Linked DNA regions of Homo sapiens: all the other regions are linked to region 3. Evidence: promoter capture Hi-C in 16 types of primary human blood cells and fetal thymus (Javierre and others, 2016). All regions are on one chromosome and are shown on one strand. Each heading gives the region's core, a stretch centred on a gene start or on the middle of the fragment in contact. The rest is flanking DNA. Distances are from core to core; before and after follow the strand shown. Region 1 holds the start of PCIF1 (phosphorylated CTD interacting factor 1). Region 2 holds the start of ZSWIM1 (zinc finger SWIM-type containing 1). Region 3 holds the start of SLC35H1 (solute carrier family 35 member H1). Region 4 has its middle 5.2 kb from the start of MMP9.

Region 1 (5,914 bases), core at 3,415-5,914, 430 kb before region 3:
CTCTGCAGTTTTGACCGCCTGGGCTCAAGTGATCCTCCCACCTCAGCCCCCTAAGTAGCTGGGACTACAGGTGTGTGCTTCCGCACCTGGCTAATTTTTGTGTTTTTTGTAGAGACGCAGGTTTCACCATGTTGCCCAGGCTGGTCTTAAACTCCTGGACTCAAGCAATCCACCCACCTCCACCTCCCAAAGTGCTAGAATTACAGGCATGAGCCACTGCGCCCAGCTATGTTTAAGACACGGTCTCTGTCGCCCAGGCTGGAGTGCAGCTAACTGCAGCTTCGACGTCCAGGGCTCAAGTGATCCTCCCACCTCAGACTCCCAAGTGGCTGGAATTACAGGCCCATGCCACCATGCCCGGCTAATTTTATTTAAAACATTTTTCAGAGACAGGGTCTTGCTACATTGCCCAGGCTGGTCTCTTAACTCCTGACCTCAAGGTATCCTCCCACTTTGGCCTCCCAAAGTGTTGGTGATTACAGGCATGAGCTACTGTGCCAGTCTATCATACACTATTTTTTTTTTTTTTTTGAGACGGAGTCTTGCTCTGTCACCAGGCTAGAGTGCAGTGGTGCGATCTTGGCTCACTGCAGCTTCTGCCTCCCAGGTTCAAGTGGTGTCCCTGCCTCAGCCTCCGGAGTAGCTGGAACTACAGGCGCGTGCCACCGTGCCCGGCTAATTTTTTGTATTTTAGTAGAGATGGGGTTTCACCATGTTGGTCAGGATGGACTCGATCTCCTGACCTCATGATCTGCCCGCTTAGGCCTCCTGGGATAAAGTGCTGGGATTACAGGTGTGAGCCACCACACCCAGCCCCATATGCTATTCTTAACAATAAAAAGGTTTTAAAAATTTGTCTTTGGGAGGCTGAGGTGGGTGGATCACCTGAGGTCAGGAGTTCGAGACCAGCCTGGCCAACGTGGTGAAATCCCGTCTATACTAAAAATACAAAAAAAAAAAAAAAAAAAAAAAAAAAAACTAGTCGGGCATGGTGGCGGGCACCTGTAATCTCAGCTACTCGGGAGGCTGAGGCAGAAGAATCACTTGAACCTGGGAGGCAGAGGTTGCAGTGAACCGAGATCGCGCCACTGCACGCTAGCCTGGGCGACAGAGCAAGACTCCTTTTCAAAAAACAAAACAAAATTGGGCTGTGTGTGGTGGCTCATGCCTGTAATCCCAGCACTTTGGAAGGCTGAAGCAGGAGGATTGCTTAAGGCAAGGAGTTCAAGGTTACAATGAGCTATGAGTGCACATCAGTCTGGGAGATAGACTGAGACTCTGCTTCTAAAAAAAAGGGGGGTAGGGGTGGGAAACGCCAGCTCTTAAGGTAGTCATTAGAATGGTGAGAAGAGGTTGGGTTTTGTTTTGTTTGAGACGGAGTTTTGCTCCTGTCACCTAGGCTAGAGTGCAATGGTGTGATTTCGGCTCATTGCAACCTCTTCCTCCCGGGTTCAAGCGATTCTCCTGCCTCAGCCTCCTGAGTAGCTGGAATTACAGGCGCTTGCCACCATGCCCAGCTAATTTTTGTATTTTTAGTACAGATGGGCTTTCACCCTGTTGGCCAGGCTGGTCTCAAACTGCTGACCTCAGGTGATCCACCCGCTTTGGCCTCCCAAAGTGCTGGGATTACAGGCGTGAGCCACCGCACCCAGCTGAGAAGAGGCTGGTTTTGACATGCGGAAAGTGAGCAAACGGAGAAGATGAGGCATGTATCAGGTGAAAAGCAGTGCTGAACACTGTGAGATAGAGAAACCTTTAAGATACTTAACTATCCAGGCCGGAGGCGGTGGCTCACGTCTGTAATCCCAGCACTTTGGGAAGCCGAGGTGGGCGGATCACCTGAGGTGGGAAGTTCGAGACCAGCCTGACCAACAGGGAGAAACCCCGTCTCTACTAAAAATACAAAATTAGCCGGGCGTGGTGGCGCATGCCTGTAACACCAGCTACTCAGGAGGCTGAGGCAGGAGAATCGCCTGAACCCTAGAGGCGGAGGTTGCAGTGAGCCGATATTGCACCACTGCACTCCAGCCTGGGCAACAAGAGCGAAACTCCGTCTCAAAAAAAAAAAAAAAAAAAAAGATTGAACTATCCAGGGCCACTGTGTCCACTCAGACCAGTCACATCGCCTGAATCTAGATCCCTTCTTCACAAAACAGGGAGGCCAGAGTGGTTTAATGGAACCAGCCCTGCATTTTGGTGTTGAGAACTCCGGGCTTAAAATCCCAGTTTTGTTACTTGTTGATGGCTGTGTGAACCTGGACAATGACTTCGCCCCTGCCCCTCGCTCCAACCTGTTTGCTCATGTGCAGATTTAGGTAATAATTCACAGAATTCCATGATAAAACAGAAGACTAGGCACTTGGGATGTTTGGTATCTTGGTTATCAATTAAGAGAATCTGAACAATGAATGAGAAAATACTTTGAAAACATAAAAGAATAGATAAAAGGCCGGGCGCGGTGGCTCACGCCTGTAATCCCAGCACTTTGGGGGGCCGAGGCGGGCGGATCATGAGGTCAGGAGTTTGAGACCAGCCTGGCCAACATCGTGAAACACCGTCTCTACTAAAAATACAAATAAAATTAGGTGGGAGTGGTGGCGGGTGCCTATAATCCCAGCTACTTGGGAGGCTGAGGCAGGAGAATTGCTTGAACCCGGGAGGCAGAGGTTGTAGTGAGCCGAGATCGCGCCACTGCAATCCAGCCCGGGCGACAGTGCGAGATTTCGTCTCAAAAAAAAAAAAGGGTAATAATCACTACATGGTTTTTAAACTTTAGTGAAAGCGCGGGCTAGCTGGGGGGCATGAGCATGGAAAACTGGTTATCCCGTAGGTCAAGAGCGACCACGTAGTTTACTGCCCAAAGCAGTACTTTTTTTTGAGACAGGAGTCTCACTCTGTCGCCCAGGCTGGAGTGCAGTGGCGCGATCTCGACTCACTGCAACCTCTGCCTCCCGGGATCATGTGATTCTCCTGCCTCAGCCTCCCGAGTAGCTGGGATTACAGGCGCGCGCCACCAGGCCTGGCTCATGTTTGTAATTTTAGTAGAGACGGGGTTTCGCCGTGTTGGCCAGGCTGGTCTTGAATTCCTGACCTCAGGTGGTCCACCTGCGTCGGCCTCCCAAAGTGCTGGGATTACCGGGGTGAGCCACCACGCCCGGCCCAAAGCAGGGCACTTCTGAAAAAGGAGGCAATATTAGTAATTATGCCAGGGCAGCAGGCATAAATCAAAGCTGGCCCCCCACCCTTCCAGAACTGAGACAGGACCCAGGAGTCTGGTTTCCCATCAGGCCTCTTATCTGAACGAGAAGCTCTGCGAGGGCAGAACTGCTGTGCCTATATAGAGCTGGCTTATTTCTGGAGGGCTCAAATCTACTTGGAGCAATGCTCATGCCACTGTGAGATGATCACGGCTAACCGATTCAGCACTTAGGAAGCGCCAGGTATTGCGCTGAGGACTTCACATGCATCACCTGAGTTAATTCTCACCAAACCTTTATGAGGTAGGCGGATTTATTATCTTCCACTGAGGAAACTAAAATTTAAATTGGTTAACTCCTTCAAGGCCACACATTTTGGGTGGAGGAGCAGGGATTGAAATCAGATGAGGATCATGAACCCTCGTTCTCAATTACTACTCATATCGGTGCCTCCGTTTTTCTTGAGCGTCCGCCTGCCTGCCCCCACGCTGGCGTGCAGCCAGGACCATGGACATCTGAGAGGCTACTCAGCCGGGGTACCTACAGCCCCTGGCTCCACACAAGCGCCGGTCTGACAGCAGGTGGCAAGCTTTTCCTCTTCTCAAGCTAGCACTGGAAGGGATGCTTGCTGGGGAGACCGGAGATGGGTGGAGCTACCACTCGGACGCCTGCAGGCTCCTACCAAAAAGAATCCTGCAGGGAGCCGGATGAGGAGCACCTCACAGCTGCCAGTTCCCTGCCAGGCTACCCGCTGTAGCTGGTTTGAGGGCTCAGTGAGGCTTTGAACTGCAACTAATGGCCACAGATGTCAATGTTGGAAAGGCCCTACAATGCATTTAGTTGATTTCCCAACTCTGCCGAAAGCCATCTCTATTACTTGCCCCCGAAGGCTAGTTTAAGTTGCTTCTACTCAAGAGCATTTACAGCTTGGGTTCGATGTATATGTAGCCCGGGCATGGGGCAGGGCTTCTTAACATTTGGACACCACGCAGCACAAAGGCCCAGAGAGGGAAAGAGACTGGCTGGAAGAGGCAGAGCCGCGCGGGTGCCAGGACCCAGGTCCTTGCTACGTCCGGAGCCTACGTCACCACGATGCCTCCCCTGGGCCGGCGGCAGAACCCGAGACCCCCGCAGGTTCTAAGACAGCCCCCACGCCCCCCAGTGCGCACGCTCAGTCCAACCCCGCCGCGCACCGCCCACCGCGAACATCCGGCTCCTGCGTGTGTGCTCGAGGGGGAAACTGAGGCGGGGACGTGCCAGTGAATTCATTCCTTCCTCAGTCCACCCGCAGGCCTACAAAGCTGTCTCCCCTTCCTCAGCGCCACAAGGAACAGCAGGGACGGATGGGAAGAAGGGGAGGGGGCCGAAAGCAAGCTGGGTGCGAGGAGCCAGCCGACCCTGCCACACTCAAGATGGCGGCGCGGCCGCGGCGAGGTCCCTCAGAGGCGGTACCAGCGCATGCGCAGCGCGGAGTCCCGGCCCGGGACACAAGATGGCGGCAGCGGCGCTGGGGAGGGCGAGGCGGAGGCGGCAAAACGGGCGGTCGAGCAGAACGTGTAGCCGCGTCCCCTCCAGTCCGCTCCGGGCAGGTAAGAGTCCCAGGAAGCCATGGTCCCGCAGCGAGCCGCGCCAGGGTCTGGGGATCCGAAGCTGGGGGGCGGCGGCCCCTCCGGCGCTTTCTGCTCGGGACTGCCGCTTGCCCTGTCTCTGTTGCCGCCGCCATCTTAGACCCGCGGGTGGGCGGCCGCGCCGGTGGCCGAAGTGAGGGAGGTGGGCCCGGAGAGCCCCAGCGGAGCGGGCTCTAGGGCCCCTCCGCTGCTGCCGCCGCCACCGCCTTTGTGTCGGGCTCCGACTCTGAGTCGCCTCAGCCCGGGGGCGGGAGCGCGCGGCGGGGCGGGGGGCGGAGCCCGAGAGATGGGCCGGCGCGCGCGCGCGCGCCAAACAGCCCACCCTCGCTGGGGTAGGGGGAGGGGAAGGTGCGCGCGCGCGCGCGCGCTGGAGCTCGCCTCTCGCCTTCGTGCGCCGTCGCGCCTGCGTACTTTGTTCGCCCTTTGACTCCTCCCTACTGGGCCGGAGAATTCTGATTGGTACATTGCGGAGATGGTCCCGCCCCACGTGCCTCCAATCCCGGACTCGGACTCTGGCTTCTGGTGGGTTTTTCTGGTTGCGCAGATAGAGTTGTTTATCCTTGAGCAGCGGTAATTCTCAAACTGCGGTATGCGTGGGGGTCGGGAAGCCACAGGATAAATAAAGACGTTAACTTAAGAGCAGTTATGTCTTACTGGGAGCGTACAATGCTGGACTCTACATATAACGGTCGAGTGATTCCGGTTTATAAGCCGGAAAGCAGAAGGGCCCGGAATCCGGGTCTGTCCAACCCAGGGGCTGGTACTTCGGCCACAGACCTGCTGCGCTCAAGTCACATAGGAAATTAAAAATGGTTTTAATTGCAAAAAATGGGTACATTTTTTCAAATAGTGTGAAAAAATGAGTCATCCTGTCTCCCAGTCACTCTTACGGTGCGTTTTAAAAATACAAATTCTTGTGTGCCTCACCTCCGTATTTATTTCTGGCTTCTGAGATGCGCAGTGAGGCACAGGAGTCTGATTTTTTTTTTTTTTTTACAAACTCCAAGATGATTCTGATGCACAGCTGGCTTTGGAAATACTGCAGTGTCCCCATTTAGCCTCACACTAAGCTGTGCCGCTTGTGCGTAT
Region 2 (5,749 bases), core at 3,134-5,633, 480 kb before region 3:
TGCCTCAGCCTCTCAAAGTGCTGGGATTAAAGGGATGACCTACTGCACCCAGCCCAATAACATTTTCGATGCGTAAGTACCAACACTGATTTGATGTTGCTAGTTGGTAATCTTAATCCTCCAAGGCCTGGTAAACACCCAGTTTTCTAAGTCTGCCATCTTCAAGGGAACTGAGGACAAGAGACCAGTTAGTAGGCCCTTGCACTACTGTAGTAGGACCCTAAATAAGTCATGGCATCATTCTGTAGAATACTGGAGGGGGTTGGGCTAGAGAATGCCAAGTTTTGGCTTGTTTAAGGGGATCTGGATTTCCTCAGCTCTAAAAGTTGGGCTCCTGATCCCCGAAGGAGGAGTAGAATTTGAGACCTGGAACTCAGTTTCCCCATAAGGTAGAATATGCGTTATGACTATATATGCACTGTTTCCTAAATTCCAGGGGCTTTAGAGTTTCACACACACACACACAACAAAACAAAACCCGCGGTGGCTCACGCCTGTAATCCCAGCACTTTGGGAGGCTGAGGTGGGCGAATCACGAGGCCAGGAGTTCGAGACCAGCCTGGCCAACAGGGTGAAACCCCGTCTCTACTAAAAATACAAAAAATTAACTGGGCGTGGTGGCGGGTGCCTGTAATCCCAGCTACTCAGGAGGCTGAGGCAGGAGAATCATCGCTTGAACCTGGGAGGCGGAGGTTGCTGTGAGTCGAGATCTTGCCACTGCACTCCATCCCAGGCGACAGTGCGAGACTCCATCTCAAAAAAAGAAAAAGAAAAAATATATATATAACTGCTATTTATTTTCCTTTTCATTTTCTGCTTTTGAGGGAGTTTCCATAGTAACGTGTCCTTCCAGTCGCCTAGCCTGAAGGGAAGCCCCGGAGCTCCAGCTTCAAGGCTCAGCTCTCCCAGATGCAAGTATCTTTACCTCCAGCCAGCTCCTTGTAACCCTGGCAACACGGCCCGCCCGCGAATCGTCACGCTACGATTGGTCCGTGGTGCTAAAGCCTGAAAGCGAATTCCTCAGACATTGGTCCGAGTCACTGCGATGCTGACGCTGTGGTTGGTGAGTTTGGATGTCAGTCAGAGTCGGAGGCAGGGTCAAATAGGGAGAAATGGCGACGGAGCCTGGCTGTGGGTGAGTGCTTCCTGAAGGGGTGAAAGTGTGAGACAGCGGATCACCGCAGTTAGCCGTCACACAGCTCCCAAAGGGATGGGAGGGAGGTTTTCTTCTCATCCGGCTCCAGCTGGACTCTGGGAATGTCAGACATCCACATCTCCCACCCAGGTTAGAGGTGAGAGGTCAAAGGCCGTATTCCCTCTGTTGGTTTTTGGACCCCAGGTACTGTGGACAGCAGTCAGGATCCCGAACCAAAGACTCAACTTTCAGCTACTTACAGAGTAATGGTGGGCAAGTCACTTAGCTTCTTTGAGCCTTAGTTTATCATCTGTAAAATGAGGACAGTAACTCGGTCTGGGGCCAAATAGAGGAAACAATGGAATAGAGTATTGCTGCTAAAAGAGGGATATAGTAGAGGCAGGAGAAGCTATGCACATTTGTTAGCCATATTTTATGGTGGAAGGGATTGAGGCTCAGAGAGGGTCATTGACTTGCCCAAGATAACACAGCAAGTTTGGAGCAATTGCAGTTCTCTTATACATACCAGGACCAAAGGAAAGAATGGATGCCAATCAGTCATTTATAAATATAAAATCGTATTTTTATTTTATTTTATTTTTTGAGACAGAGTTTCACTCTGTCACCCAGAGCTGGAGTGCAGTGGCGCAATCTCGGCTCACTGCAACCTCAGCCTCCTGGGTTCAAGCAGGTCTCCTGCCTCAGCCTCCCGAGTAGCTGAGACTACAGGCATGGGCCACCATACCCGGCTAATTCTTTTTGTATTTTTAGTAGAGACGGGTTTTCACCATGTTGGCCAGGCTGGTCTCGAACTCCCAACCTCAAGTTATCTGCCCACCTTGGCCTCCCAAAGTACTGGGATTACAGGTGTGAGCCACTGCACCTGGCTAGAATGCTATTTTTTTAAAAGGCCATATGCAGCTCTGGCCATACCTATTTAAATCCCCTGGAACCATATCTTTCCATAGCTAACTTCTTATCATTTAGATTTCAGCTCCAATGTCATCCTTCTCCCCTGAGAGGCCTTCCATTACCACTTTAACTAAAGTATCCCTCCCTTCCCCAGCTTACTCTCTGACATGTTACTCAGGTTTATGGTCTTTGTAAGCTTCATTATTGGATATATATTTGCTTATTTGTTTACATGTTTATTGTGTATCTTCCCCTAGAACAGTGCTGACATATAGTAAGTGTTCAACAAATATTGTGTGGATGAATAATTGAAGAGCCAGGTCCCTGCTGTCTCCTTAAACCTCTGTTACTCTCCATAGGCCCATCTTTGGAAAAAAGATCTGGGAATGATTGTCTAGCCTCCAGCCTCAACTTACTTGATGCTTGAGAGACTCAAAGCCCCGTGGTCAGCTGCCCTGCAAAGAAAGTATTTTGACCTTGGCATTTGGACAGCTCCCATCTCTCCCATGGCCCTGACAATGCTGAATGGGCTCCTGATTAAGGACTCAAGCCCACCTATGCTGCTGCACCAGGTTAACAAGACTGCCCAGTTAGATACCTTCAACTACCAGAGCTGCTTTATGCAAAGTGTCTTTGACCATTTCCCTGAGATCTTATTTATCCACCGGACCTATAACCCAAGGGGTAAGGTCTTATATACCTTCCTGGTGGATGGACCTCGGGTGCAGCTGGAGGGTCATCTTGCCCGAGCAGTCTACTTTGCCATCCCTGCCAAGGAGGACACTGAAGGCCTGGCCCAGATGTTCCAAGTATTCAAGAAGTTTAATCCAGCATGGGAGAGAGTCTGTACCATCCTGGTGGATCCTCATTTCCTTCCACTGCCTATCCTAGCTATGGAGTTCCCCACAGCTGAGGTCCTTCTCTCAGCCTTCCACATTTGTAAGTTCCTCCAGGCCAAGTTCTATCAGCTGTCCCTTGAACGGCCCGTGGAAAGGCTGCTCCTGACCTCCCTGCAGAGCACAATGTGCTCAGCCACAGCAGGCAACCTGAGAAAGTTGTATACACTCCTGAGCAACTGCATCCCTCCAGCCAAGCTGCCCGAGCTTCACTCACACTGGCTGCTCAACGACCGCATCTGGCTGGCTCACCGCTGGAGAAGCCGAGCTGAGAGCAGCCACTACTTCCAGAGCCTCGAGGTCACCACCCACATCCTCAGCCAGTTCTTTGGTACCACCCCATCTGAGAAACAAGGTATGGCTTCTCTGTTCCGTTACATGCAGCAGAACTCTGCAGACAAGGCAAACTTCAACCAGGGCCTGTGTGCCCAGAACAATCATGCTCCCTCAGACACCATCCCCGAAAGCCCCAAACTGGAGCAGCTGGTAGAATCCCACATCCAGCACTCCCTCAATGCCATCTGCACAGGGCCAGCAGCCCAACTGTGCCTGGGCGAGCTTGCTGTGGTCCAGAAATCCACACACCTCATTGGCTCTGGCTCAGAAAAGATGAACATACAGATCCTGGAAGATACCCATAAGGTGCAGCCCCAGCCCCCTGCCAGCTGCAGCTGCTACTTTAACCAGGCCTTCCACCTGCCCTGCCGCCACATCCTAGCCATGCTCAGTGCCCGCCGCCAGGTGCTCCAGCCCGACATGCTGCCGGCTCAGTGGACGGCAGGCTGTGCTACCAGTCTAGACAGCATCCTGGGCAGCAAGTGGAGTGAGACCCTGGATAAGCACCTGGCAGTGACTCACCTCACCGAGGAGGTGGGTCAGCTGTTGCAGCACTGCACCAAGGAGGAGTTTGAGCGGAGGTATAGCACCCTGCGGGAACTGGCCGACAGCTGGATTGGGCCTTATGAGCAGGTCCAACTCTGATTATTCTCGATGCCCAGAGATGCTCATGCACCTGTGCACACTCACATCCACCCATACACACACACACACACACACACACACACACACACACACTCCCTTACACTGTTGTACTTCCGTGGGCCCTCCTTCCAGAACAAGGACAACAAGGACAAGGTTGAAGGGTCTTCTCATCTACCATGGCCTGCTACCTAGCATGTGTCTAGCTCAATGAGACAGGAGTCAGCAAATCTTAATCTGTTTAGTTTACTCAGGTGGCCACATACAGTCTCTGTTGTATATTCTTGGTTTTGTTTTAATATTTTTTTTCTTTTTTTTTTTTTTTTTTTTTTTGAGAAGGAGTCTGTCTCCGTCACCCAGGCTGGAGTGCAGTGGCGCAATCTCTGCTCACTGCAAGCTCCACCTCCTGGGTTCACACCATTCTCCTGCCTCAGCCTCCCGAGTATCTGGGACTACAGGCGCCCGCCACAATGCCGGGCTAATTTTTTGTATTTTTAGTAGAGACGGGGTTTCACCGTGTTAGCCAGGATGGTCTCGATCTCCTGACTTCGTGATCTGCCCGCCTCGGCCTCCCAAAGTGCTGGGATTACAGGCGTGAGCCATCGCACCCGGCCTGTTTTAACATTTTCATAAGGTAAAAACCTTTCTTAGCTCAAAGGTCTTTAAAAAAGCAGGCAATCCAGCTGGGCATGGTGGCTCACGCCTGTAATCCCAGCATTTTGGGAGGCTGAGGTGGACAGATGACTTGAGGTCAGGAGTTCAAGACCAGCCTGGCCAACATAGTGAAACCCTGTCTCTACTAAAAATACACAAATTAGCCAGGTGTGGTGGCGGGGGCCCTGTAATCCCAGCTACTCGGGAGGCTGAGGCAGGAGAATCGCTTGAACCTGGGAGGCAGAGGTTGCAGTAGGCCAAGATCCTGCTGCCACTGCACTCCAGCCTGGGAGGGTGAGACTCCATCTAAAAAAAATAAAATAAATGGCAACCCCTGGTCTAAGATAAGAGATAAAACATCAGGTGGTGAGGTTGAGGTTTGGGGCTTGGTAGCAGTTGCCCCAGTCATGAGATGACTCACTTAACCCGTCTCCTTTAAGTGAGCTGGGCTGGGAGGCTTCCTACAGGGGAAGAGGCCCCTCTGGGGAGCTGACTCAGCCAGGCTCCCTGAACTTTTTTCCTTGTCCCATCCTGGGGTCAATAAAACTGAATGTTGCATATTCTAGCACTTGTCTAGTTTTTTTTTTGTTCCATAGAAGGCAGTTTAGGGTATATCATGGAGAGAATAGACTTTAGAGTGTTATACAACATGTGAATCCTGGTTGGTTCCTTCCCTGCTTGATTTTTGTGCCTGGTTCTGCCTTTTACTAGCTATGAGACTTATTAGGATAAGTTACCCCTCTAAACCTCAACCTGATTATCTGTAAAAATGGGGATCTCCACAGGGTATGTTCACAGAGCAGGCATACCTAGTGGGTGCTCAATTAAGTATTAATTTTCCTTCCTTGCCTATGGTCCTATGACCTGCCTTCAACATGCTGGGAAATTTAAGGCAAGAGGAGAATTCAAATACCTAGGACTTAATATAAGAAATTCTGGCCAGGCATGGTGGCTCACACCTGTAATCCCAGCACTTTGGGAGGCCGAGGCAGGCGGATCACCTGAGGTCGGGAGTTTGAGACCAGCCTGACCAACATGGTGAAACCGTGTCTCTACTAAAAATACAAAAATTAGCCGGGCGTAGTGGCAGGCACCTGTAATCCCAGCTATTCGGGAAGCTGAGGCAGGAGAATCACTTGAACCTGGGAGACGGAGGTTGCAGTGAGCCAAGATC
Region 3 (5,429 bases), core at 1-2,500:
TGGACTCCTTATTGGTCTTTTTTGCTGGCACCTTCTTGTCAACTCAATCTATAAAAATTGGGTGCCTAAAGCTTGGAACCTGGCTTCTCTTCTCTCTTAAATCTTACCCTACATAATCTCATCCTACCCAATCCACTTGCCAATGATTTCTAAATTCTTTACATCAGCCCTGACCTTTTCTGTATCAGACTCATATATCTAACTGCCTATTTGGTAGCTGCACTCCAAATATCTAAAACTTAAGATGCCCTAAGAAGATTTCGTAATTATTTCTCACGCTCCCAATCTATCCCAAAGTCATTTAGTAAATGCCAGCATAATACACTTGGTTACTTAAGCCAAAACCAAAAATCTATGATGAAGTCATCTTTGACCACTTATTTCTGTCATTTCTCAAATCCTGCCCTGTCAGTTCCACTTTCAATACACTTCTTGACCCCTCTACTTCTCTTCCTCTCCATTCCCACTACCACAGTCTAAGCCACAATTATCTTTCACCTGCTGACTGCCACTGGTCTAACTGGTCTCCCTGTTTCCTCTTTCGCCCCTAAGGCCTGGAATCTATAAAGCAGCCAGAGAGATGGCACACGAAACAGATCATGCCCTAAGGCTAAGCCCAGCTCCTCAGCCTGGTCCACAAGGAAGGCCTCTGTAACCTCATTCTTCTGCCACTGGTCCCAGCACCCGCCACAGCGGCCCCCTGCCACGTGTCAAACACATCAAACCTGTGTTTTTCTTTACTTGCTGCTCTTCCTGCCTTCAGCTCCCTTCCGCAGACCTCCGCTTGGCTGAATACTTTCTCCAATGCCCCACCCCTCCCAATCCTCGTGGCACTCCCACCTCTGACGTTTCCTTGTTTGCTCACGTGTTTACTGCCCGCCCCAATCCCACCGCGGGAAGCAGCCCCTCAGAGGGCAGGGCCGTGTCCGATTCCGGCCCGGGTCCCGCACCCAGGACGTCGCAGGTGCTCAGGAAATACCAGATGAGCCGGCGTCCGGCAGGTGCCTTGCAGGAGGGCGCTTGGAGACCCCTGCCCCCTCCACAGACGGCGAAACTGAGGCCCGGGGAGGGGCAGGGGCGTGGCGTGCCCCATGTCAACCCGCGCAGATCCCGGGTGGGGAGCCCGCTTCCCTTCTCCAGCCCCGGCCCCCCAGCCTCTGGGAGTGCGCCGGGAGGCCGGCCGCACACCCACTCACCTCGGCCCTGGGAGCTCCAGGCCGGAATCTCCCCACCGGAAGTGCGAGGCCGGATGCCGCCGCCGAACCGCGGCACGGGCGGTAACTTCCGCCGGAAGCTACCCAGGGGCTGGGCGGAGCCGGGGCGAAAAGGCGGGGCGGGGCAGCACGGGGGCGGGGCGTCTGTTGTGGTCGGGTTCTGAGGTGGTCTGGTCTTTCTGAGGTACAGCGTAGTTTTGTCCTCCGCGAAGTCCCTCAGGCTCAGAGCACAGCCGTGTAATTGTCTGCGTCTCTCCCGCGCTCAATCAGGGGCTTGCTTTGGAACCCCGGTGCCTGCTAGTGTTCTGCATACAGTGAGCATCCAAAAAATGGTAACTTGTTTACTTTTACTGAACAAATTGTTTTTCTTATGTCCAGTCTAATGCTGGGCAACCATGGAATGAACCACGAAGATAAGTATCTCATGGGCTTTTTCTTCTGGGAGCTCAGGCCAGCTGGGGCCATTACAACTTAAAACTTGGGCGATCCAGAAGTAATACGAAACATTTGTGAAATATTTTCTGTATGAAACTTTCTAAGAATTATCTCAACTTCAATAGGTTGAGTAGGGAGAGAGCATCCCAGATAGAGGAAATGGGAGAATCCTAAAGGAGGGTGAGAAAGCTCCAGCCGTGCCTGGGGCTCACAGGTTGTTTGTAACTGTGGTGGTTAAAGTAGCCAAGAGGCAGGTTGCAGTGGCCCCAAAATGCCAGCCTAGGGAGTTCAGATTTTCTTCATCTTGCGGGATGGATTAAAAGGGCAGCATTTGCAGTCAAGAACATTAGGCCAGGGCAAGCTAGGGTTGCACATTCAGACCCAGTTTTGTGCCTTTCGCCCTCCTCTAGCCTCCTCCTGGGCTCTCTGGCAGTAAGACCAGCTGCAAACATGGATCCTTACAAGTGACTCAGCTGGGATCCCTGGCCCCTCTGAACAGAAGGCTCAAGGCCAGAGTGTAAGCAGTGTTTTATGCAAACTGCGGCTGTCACCGCCGCCAGCTGGCATCATGCAGGCATTAGTTCATTCAGTGCTTACCAAGCACCTACAATGGTACCCATCACTGCCCAAGGTCTTGGCTTTATTCAGTCCTCAGGCTTGTATTGCATGCACTTTCTATGCCTTTTGAAAGAGCCTGTCCTCACACCCTTCTCTCTCAGAGGCAAGAGATCTATTTTCATCACCACCCTCATTTAAGTCTCCCAGCTACCAAGGCCAAGGTTTGGAGCAACAGCCTAAAACACCAGCTGGAAGGCTGGGCACTATGCACAGGCAACACACAGGGTAAAGAGCGTGTCTTCTTTGTAAGGCACAAGTACTCGAGCTGTTCCCTGGCTGTGTCCCTGGCAGGGAGAAGAGGGAGGATGTGTTCATGGGGGTGTACAGTATGCCTTACCTTGCTGTACCCAGCAGGGTTGAGCAGAAAACGCTTCGTCCCAGTGCAGCAATCTGTGAACACTCTTAACCAGCAGGTGTGTGTCTGTGTGTGTGTATGTGTGGGAGGAGCGAATGATGAGGAGGAAGGGACTCTTGGAAGGTGACTAAGGGCTCCAGCTGGAGCTCTCCAGAGTCTCCCAGATACATGGAGATCAAGTCTTGTCAAGGTGAAATCTTCACCATTGGGCAGGGGGCAAGTACAGACAAACAGCTGTTAACAGGAACCACAGTTTGTACATGAAAGAGTATTTATTGAAAACATGGTTACTGACAGGAAGCTCCTGGCTGCTCTCTGGTTACAATCTTGGCTCACAACTGGAAGTGTTACATACTTTTTACTTCCCCTCAATTTTATTTTTCCCCAAGGTTCCATCCTAAGATAGGTAGATCTTATATAAATATATATACACGTCTGTATAAGTATGGCCTATAGTAATGAAAATATATAGTACACTCTTCATTGGGTAGTACCTACCATGCCAGGCCACCAATACTGAATGCCAATGTGCTAACGTATGTCCAGGGAGAGAGGCTGTGTGTGTGGTTTACAAGTGCTGCAGCACCAGGGAAGCCCCACTGGCACAGGTGTGGCCTCAGCCGGCCTCAGCCAGCTCCCTGAAATCATGGCCAATGGCAGAAACCATAGCACTAGGAAGGGAAGGCCAACTTCCTGGGGTCTGGAAGGCCAAAGGAAAGCAAACTGGAGGGGGCTGCAATTCAGGTTAGGGGAGATTTCTCTCTGAGGAAGGAAAAGGTATTAATGTGGGGGAAGAGCAGTAGAATCTAGTGACCTCACCACAGTCTAGGCCCAGGCCTCAGCTGGGTTTTCCCTGCAGCGTTCCTGGAGACTTAAGAGGGCAGGACTTGGCCAGGAGGTCTTTGACTTGCTGGGATGAGACTGAGCGCTTGCAGGGAGAAATTTCCGTCTGCTCTGATATCTGTATGGGCCAGAGAGATCTGGTGGCTCTAAAGACCAGAGATGTTAGAGCCAACCTCAGAAGCAGCAACGTCTTGGCACCATATGAAGCTGGAGTGAGCCCTCATCAAAAAAGACAAAAGCAAAAGCCTCAGGCTTGTACTCAGATCTAAGATACAGGTAGTCACTTCAAGGCTCTCAACACGCCCAACACACCTGTCCTCTGCAGGCAGCCTTTCCTGGGCCAGCTGTTGCTCACGTGGGGATCCAGCTGATCAGAGAGCAGGCTCAGGAGGAAAAGGTGAGTGGCTGTTGTTAAATCCATTTCAAGAAGCAGTTTCTTGGACTGGAAGGCAAGGGCATCTGCTGTTTGTTCCTCGTGGCCCAATCCCAGGCTTCATGGTGATGGAGTGGGCAGAGCACCCTGCCTTCATGACTCTTAGTAGACAGGGACCAAGAGGAAACTCTGGGTGGTCCGAGGTGGGTTTGAGAAATGGCTGGCATTTACTGGCCACCAAAATCACTACAGATTCTGTACAAGCAAAAGACAAGGCACCAGAATGTAAGTGTTTCTCCTGGGCCCAAAATCCCTTCTCCTGGGTACCGTCGTTTCTGGCTCCAGGCTCAGCCATAGTGATAGACAAAGTCATAGCTGCTGGGCTCCTTGGGGATGGGGGGTGGGGCTTCGGGAATCTGGATGTTCTCCAGGTCCAGGAGCCGCAGCTTCATCTCCATGCTCAGCAGGGTGTCCAGGTCACTCTTGGTCAGCTCACTGGACATGTCCTTCCCCAGAAGGGCACTGAGGCCATCAATCCAGATGCAGTACTGTGGGGAGCAAGTTGCAAAATGTCACATCGTGACCCCTGGTCAGCAGGAGATCCTGCCAAGGTCTCTTTTCTGATGGGGCTCACAACAGTTCCTTTTGGAACTAATCAGTATAGGCAAAACTGATTTGGAATGATAGCAAAGATAAATTAGGAGGTGATCCTTCACTTTCTCAAGAGATCTGGTTTTTATAAGGGGTTTTATATTACAACTCCTTACAATAATATGAAGGAGAACCTAAAAATGCAATAAACGAATACAGCAAAATGAGATCTGAGTACTGGGGCATCATCTACCTGAAGTTACCCAAAATCAGAAGCGAGAGAAGGGAAATATGTATTAGGTGAAAAGAAGCAAGACACAAACAGAAGTCACTGTGGGATCTCAATTTTGTGCCCCGCCCCCCCGAAAACAAAATTAAAAATAATCCAGTCAATACATATTAAAGAGTAAATACTAAAGAAATGGAACTGGTGGGTCTCATGCTAAGAGGGGGTGACCAGGAAGCCTTCTGATCCCACCGCTCCCTGACTCTTCCTGCTTCCTCTGCTGCCATTTTCCTTTTTCCACACCGTTGCTCACCTGGTTCCCCACTTGCTTGTTCTTCATTTCCTCTCAACCAAATTCCACTAGCGGCAGCTCAGGCCCTGCCCAAGTGTCTCCTCTGCCAGAAGTCCCACCTCTAGTTCCCAGTGATGGCTCTCAGAGCTCACCAGGCACATAGGGTCTCAAATGCAATCACTCATTTAATATCTAGTATCTTCCAGTGCTGCAGATGGAACTACAGGGCCCTTGTCAGAAGGACCAGTTCCATCTGGCTTCAAAGTCCACACTGGATCCATTACAACATGTGACCAGGAGCCCCTAGGAGGAAGGATCTGTCAAGTTCTCTTGGGTAGCTGACCACAGAGAAACTGAAAAGGGGAGAATTTTCCCAGTCCCAGGTAAATGACTCATTCCTAGTTGACCTTATCTTTGTAATGACAACCTATGGCTGCTGCTGAAGAGTAATGTGGAGAGCCCAGCTCACAGATAAACAATCC
Region 4 (5,840 bases), core at 1,498-3,997, 360 kb before region 3:
GGAAGAGCTGCGGAAATTGGTTCTGGATACTTCCTGGCAAAGTGTTCTCAATTGCTTCAACTATGTTGGGGGTGGGTGGGAGAGAGGGGGTAGAATCTCTGAACCTCTCAGTGAACACAGCCAGCAGCGGCTGTCCCTATCAGTGATTTCTAAACCGAAGGAGCTTGCTAACATCTACTTCCAGATCACACTGATTACTAAACCAGAATCTCTTGAGAACCTTTGTTTTTTAAAAGTCCCTGGCTTTAGGAAATACTGACACTAACCAGGCGTTCTTAATCTGGAGACTCTTACAGGTTCCGGGGCCCGGTATAGCAATGTTATTAACCCTTCCTGCATATTAGAATCACCGAGGCTTAAAAAATTTCCCAACGCTCAGGCTGTACCCTAGACCAATTAAGTCAGAATCTACAGGAGGGGAGGTGAAAGTCAGGCATCAGTATTCAAGAGAAAATCCTGAGTGATTCCAATGTGCAATCAAATTTGAGAAGCATTGCTGAACAGGATTCCCACGAGACACTTGTTATACCTGTGCTTGCTTTGGGGCTATTGTTAGCTGCAGGCCCACCACCCGGTGCCAGCTTCAGGAGACCCTCCTTCTAGGAAGGGGACTGGAGGATTGGTGTGCAGCCAGTATGCACTGGTATAGCAGCATTGGTTGTAAAAATACTGAAATATGGCTGGGTGCGGTGGCTCATGCCTGTAATCCCAGTACTTTGGGAAGCCGAGGCAGATGGATCCCTTGAGCTCAAGATTTTGAGACCAGCCTGGGCAACATGGTAAACCCATCTCTATAAAAATTGCAAAAACTAGCCAGGCGTGGTGGAGCGTGCCTGTGGTCCCAACTACTTGGGAGGATCGCCTGAGCCTGGGAGGCACAGGTTGCAGTGAGCCGTGATTGTGCCACTGCACTCCAGCTTGGGCAACAGAGCAAGACCCTGTCTCAAAAATAAAATACTGACATATTTCCCCATCCACTTGTAACTGGGGCTGCTTTGAACTTTCTAAGTTCAAAGCATCACCCTCCCCATCTCCCCAGACCCTGGACATAATCAGTTCTGATTAGTTAGGGCTCCTGAGGACCTGGTTGTTAAATACTTGAACATCACCCCCCGCTATAATGTTGTAGTGAGAAGCACCCACTTTATATAGTCAGAAAGGCCTAGATTCCCACTTGATTTTGGTATGAGTTGTGTGGCTTTTGGACAAGTGGCTTCATCTCTCTGAAGGTCAGTTTCCTCATCTGGAAATGGGGTCAAATGCCCTCCCTATCAGCGTAGGGATGAAGCTGCACTACAGCAGAGGTGGCAAACTGAGCATGCATCAGAATCACTTGGCTGGGCTGGGCACAGTAGCTCATGCTTGTAATTCCAGCACTTTGGGAGGCCAAGGCCAGTGTATCACCTGAGGTCAGGAGTTCGAGACCAGACTGGCCAACATAGTGAGACCCTGTCTCTACTGAAAATACAAAAATTAGCCAGACATGGCCACAAGCACCTGTAGTCCCAGTTGCTCAAAAGGCTGAAGCAGGAGAATTGCTTGAACCTGGGAGGTGGAGGTTGCAGTGAGCTGAGATCATGCCACTGCCCTCCAGCCCGGGTGACAGAACAAGACTCTGTCTCAAAAAAAAAAAAAAAAAAAAAAGGGCCAGGTGTGGTGGCTCACGCCTGTAATCCCAACACTTTGGGAGGCTGAGGCGGGCAGATCACGAGGTCAGGAGTTCAAGACCAGCCTGGCCAATATGGTGAAACCCCGTCTCTACTAAAAAATACAAAAATTAGCCGGGCATGGTGGCGGGCCCCTGTAGTCCCAGCTACTCAAGAGGCTGAGGCAGAAGAATCGCTTGAACCCGGGAGGTGGAGGTTGCAGTGAGTCGAGATCGTGCCACTGCACTCCAGCCTGGGAGACAGAGTGAGACTCTGTGTCAAAAACAAACAAACAAACAAACAAAAACTTTGGCTTGTTAGGTCAAAGATTTCTGGGCCCCACCCCGGAGTTGCTGATTCAATCATTCTGGGGCGGGGAGGATTTGTGTTTCTAAGTTCTCAGGTGCTGCAGGGGCTTCTGGTCCTGGGACTACAGTTTGAGAACCATTGAACTGGAAGATGTATGAGAAAGTGGGCTGGGCCGAGAGTAGAGGCTCAACCCAGGCTTGGAAAAGGGTCAAAATATGTGCCGGTTTCCCTGTGCGCCACATGGACTTCTCCCTCCTGAGCCATTCCCCAGGGCTCTCTCCATCCATTTGTCCAGCAGGGACTGAGCCCCCGCTGAATGCTTAACCTTGGATTTCTCAAAGATTAAGTCCTCTTCCCACCTCTTCCCCATTGTGAGCAGGACCAGATTTACACCTTTAGTGGCTGTGATTACTGAAAATACGGTGCCCCTCCCATCTGTTGTCCAAAGTAAAACAACACTAAACCCTGAAATGACTTCATAAAAAGAACAATAGAGAACTGATTTTTTTTTCCCAAGCTGGCTACTTTGAGGATTTTTTCCAAATATCAAAAACAATATTTTATTTTATTTATTTATTTTGAGACACAGTCTCCGGAGTCTCGCTCTGTCGCCCAGGTTGGAGTGCAGTAGCGCGATCTCAGCTCACCGCAACCTCTGCCTCCTGGGTTCAAGTGATTCTCCTGCCTCAGTCTCCTGAGTAGCTGGGATTACAGGCATGCACCACCATGCCCAGCTTATTTTTGTGTTTTTAGTAGAGACGGGGTTTCACCATGTTGGCCAGGCTGGTCTTCAACTCCCGATCATAGGTGATCCAACTGCCTCTGCCTCCTAAAGTGCTGGGATTACAGGTGTGAGCCACCGCACCCGGTCAAAATCAATATTTTAAATGTGTATTTTGGGACTGCGCCTGCTTTGCTGGGACCCCAAGCATATTCTTACCTGCCAGTGGGCAACCCAGTGTCAAAGGAACCGGTCCCAGGCCCATTCTCTTTCACCTCCATTTTCACATCTCTCCCTGCACAGCACCATCCCTTCTTGTAGACAAGAACTTCTCACCTTAAATAAAACTCCACTTGAGGCTGGGCACGGTGGCTTACGCATGTAATCTCAGCACTTCGGGAGGCCGAGGCGGGTGGACTGCTTGAGGCCAGGAGTTTAAGACTAGCCTGGGCAACGTGGCGAAACCCTGTCTCTACAAAAAAACAAAAATTAGCTGAGCTTGATGGAGCACACCTGTAGTCCCAGATACTCAGAAGGCTGAGGTCGAAGGATGGCTTGAACCCAGAGGCGGAGGCTGCAGTGAGCCTAGATCACATCATTGCACTCCAGCCTGGGTGACAGAGTGAGACCCTGACTCAAAAAAAAAACCCCAAAAAACAAAAAAACCTCCACTTGACTGTTCTCTGCCCTACCAGCTACCTCACTCTTATTTTCCTTTTTTATCTCCAACTTTTCTTTCCTACAGATTTCAGCCAAATAACTCACATCTGTTCCCTCTGTTGGTTCCTAAACATAACTCCTCCAGCCTGGCTTCTGGGCAATCACCCCTCCCTGCCCCTAGACTGCTGCCCCCATGGACTTCCTTTTTGCGAGAGCCAGTGACCTGATCTTAGCACGGGATTGGGAGTCAGAAGGCCTAGGCAGCTGGTCACTCACCAGCTGTGTGACCGTGAGCAACTTAAAGCACTTCTCTGAGCCATGGGTATGAACGTTAATTTGCAAAGTTGAGATGAGAGCATTAGAGTAATAGAATCATAATAGCTAAACTGTGTGTGTGTGTGTGTGTGTACCTGCTAAGAGCCAGGCACTGTGCTGAGAATTTGCCATGTATAATCACATTTAATCCCCACTACAACACCTCCAAATGAGGTCTGCTTCTTTCCCCACTTTACAAATGAGAAAAGGGAGGCACAGAGAGGTAAAGTGATTTGCCTAAAGTCCCACAGCCCATAAATGATAGGTAGTAGAATATGAACCCAGGAGGTCTGATTCCAAAATTTATGCCCTATGGCTTCCTTACTGACGGTGCTCAGTACAGATAAGTGGGAGGTGTGACTTGGTGTTAATAGGGACTCTAAGAGTCAGTGTGGGAATTGCCATTCCCCTGAAGCTAGGGATGGCAGGTGTGTTTGTGGGTTGGGGGTGGGGTACTTGAGTGATGCTCTCCCCTGAGGCAATGTCTTGCAGGATACACACCTTTCTACTTCATCTCAGATTTCAGTGTCTCCTCCACATCCTGCCAGAGCCTCTCTGGCCTGGCTGCCCCTCCCCTCTCTGGCAGGTTTGGGAGAAAGAGGCTTGGAGTTCCCCCATCCTAGATAGCGGGACAGATTCCTCATCTCGTGAGGCTGACCCTGATCTGGGGGCCTGTTATTAATAATGGCCTGCAGGGCTGTGTCATCCAGCTAGTGATTCAGGACTCCAGGGTCAGCACCCTCCCCATCCTGATGGAGCTACCTCAGTGAGGGGCTTAGAGTCTAAGCTATGACTCTACGTGAGGGTATATGCTGTTCTCTGCCTGCACTCCCAGGGTCTTGGCTAAACTCTATTGTGGTATTAAAAAGAGAGGCTGGGGGAAGTGGGGAAGGGGATGTGGTAACCAGAACCACTTCCTGCCACTGCAGTGTTGAAAGCCAAGCTCTGTCCAAGTTCCCCTTGATGGGGGTTGGGGAGCCAGGAGGTAAAGGAGGAAGTTGATGGGAGTTGGGGGGGATGTTAAAAAAAGGAGGATTCTTATTTGGATTGACTCCAGGAATCAAGATCTGGGTTTCCTGGCTGCTCTCTCCCTGCTCCCATTTGGTAAAAAACAGCGGCTGTCCTGAAGGTGGTCCTAATTAGCATAGCAGTGAACACTTATTATCATGTGCCAGGCACTTTATATTTGCTAACACTTTGAGCCTTACAACCACCCCATGAAGGAAGCACTATTATTACTCCAATTTTACAGATGGGGAAACTGAGGCACTGAAATGTTGTGTCAGTTGCCCTTGTCACACAGCAAGTCAGTGGCAGAGCTGAGATTTGAACTTAGGCAGCCTGGCTCCAGAGTGCAGGCTCTTGCTCTGTGACCACTCTGAGCCTCAGTTTCCTCATTGCATGATGAGGGTAATTGGAATACATAAATCCACTTTCCTTTCTTGATGCCTGATTCTCTGGTAATTAATTATTCATTCAATTTCTCCCCATGCTGAACTCTCAGATCCATGAACAATGAGACAAAGGCTATCTTGGTCACTACTTGTATTCCCAATTCTTAGCATAATGATTGGCCTAGAAAAACTCAACTAGAATGTGTTGAGTAAATGGTCTTTAAAAGGTCTGAAGATCATCAACAATGGTTTGAGTATCTGATAAAAGTTTTAGACCCTTTACATAGAAAAATCAACATATACCAGTAGCTGGGGGTGAGTCTGCCCCTCCCACTCACCCAGGGTACATTTGGCAATGTTTGGTAACATTTCTGGTTGTCACAACTGGCAGGGGGAGGTGCTACTGGCATCCAGTGGGTAGGGGTCAGGGACGCTGCTAAACATCCTACAATGCACACGACAGCCCCAAGTGCCAATAGTGCTAAGTTTGAGCTATGTGACATACATACATAGATATGTATTGTATGTCATGTTTGGTACCATTGATGGCAAGTGGGGGGTAGTTAACGGATTTTCCTAAAAGCCCGTGTCTGCCACCCAGATGAAGATCCTCCAGATTGGAAGATCTGTTCCTCTAAACTCATATTACTCTATGACCTCACATTCCCGAGTCTAGAATCTAGTTCCTCCTGGGTCCCCTGTCCTAGCCTCTGATTCCCTAAATGCCTGGGCCTCCTCTCTTACCTTCAGTGGGTAGCAGGGGACCAGAGGAGAAGCATCCAGGTTTTATGTGCT

Evidence for each region. Contacts are between HindIII fragments. The CHiCAGO score rates a contact against its expected background, and 5 or more counts as called.
Region 1: a contact is called between the fragment with the promoter of PCIF1 here and the fragment with the promoter of SLC35H1 in region 3, in 4 of 17 cell types (total CD8 T cells, non-activated CD4 T cells, fetal thymus and 1 more). The highest score is 8.3, in total CD8 T cells.
Region 2: a contact is called between a fragment that was not itself captured here and the fragment with the promoter of SLC35H1 in region 3, in 2 of 17 cell types (fetal thymus and total B cells). The highest score is 7.0, in fetal thymus.
Region 4: a contact is called between a fragment that was not itself captured here and the fragment with the promoter of SLC35H1 in region 3, in 1 of 17 cell types (non-activated CD4 T cells). The highest score is 5.2, in non-activated CD4 T cells.

The regions. Positions count from the first base shown.
Region 1 is chr20:45,930,019-45,935,932 of GRCh38, forward strand. PCIF1 (phosphorylated CTD interacting factor 1) reads left to right here and starts at 4,665. Exons shown (of 17, transcript NM_022104.4): 1 at 4,665-4,786. It overlaps LOC107985388 (pre-mRNA-splicing factor cwc22-like), which reads right to left and starts at 5,053. Exons shown (of 1, transcript NR_171669.1): 1 at 3,476-5,053. RefSeq lists enhancers at 2,591-3,283, 3,566-3,715, 3,975-4,666, 4,667-5,357 and a silencer at 4,986-5,195. The HindIII fragment of the contact is 3,152 bases long and covers 3,785-5,914 here.
Region 2 is chr20:45,880,127-45,885,875 of GRCh38, forward strand. It overlaps ZSWIM1 (zinc finger SWIM-type containing 1), which reads left to right and starts at 1,101. Exons shown (of 2, transcript NM_080603.5): 1 at 1,101-1,135; 2 at 2,407-5,140. The coding sequence starts at 2,467. The coding sequence ends at 3,924. RefSeq lists enhancers at 811-860, 1,111-1,190. The HindIII fragment of the contact is 4,284 bases long and covers 2,242-5,749 here.
Region 3 is chr20:46,363,175-46,368,603 of GRCh38, forward strand. SLC35H1 (solute carrier family 35 member H1) reads right to left here and starts at 1,251. Exons shown (of 10, transcript NM_015945.12): 1 at 1,197-1,251. It overlaps LOC124904917 (a long non-coding RNA gene), which reads left to right and starts at 1,365. Exons shown (of 3, transcript XR_007067614.1): 1 at 1,365-1,546. ELMO2 (engulfment and cell motility 2) reads right to left here. Exons shown (of 22, transcript NM_133171.5): 22 at 2,876-4,386. The coding sequence ends at 4,186. RefSeq lists a silencer at 972-1,391 and an enhancer at 5,416-5,429. The HindIII fragment of the contact is 17,737 bases long and covers 70-5,429 here.
Region 4 is chr20:46,000,807-46,006,646 of GRCh38, forward strand. No RefSeq gene overlaps it. Among named protein-coding and RNA genes, the nearest start is that of MMP9, 5.2 kb to the right of the region's middle. RefSeq lists enhancers at 3,206-3,857, 3,858-4,509. The HindIII fragment of the contact is 6,341 bases long and covers 1-5,840 here.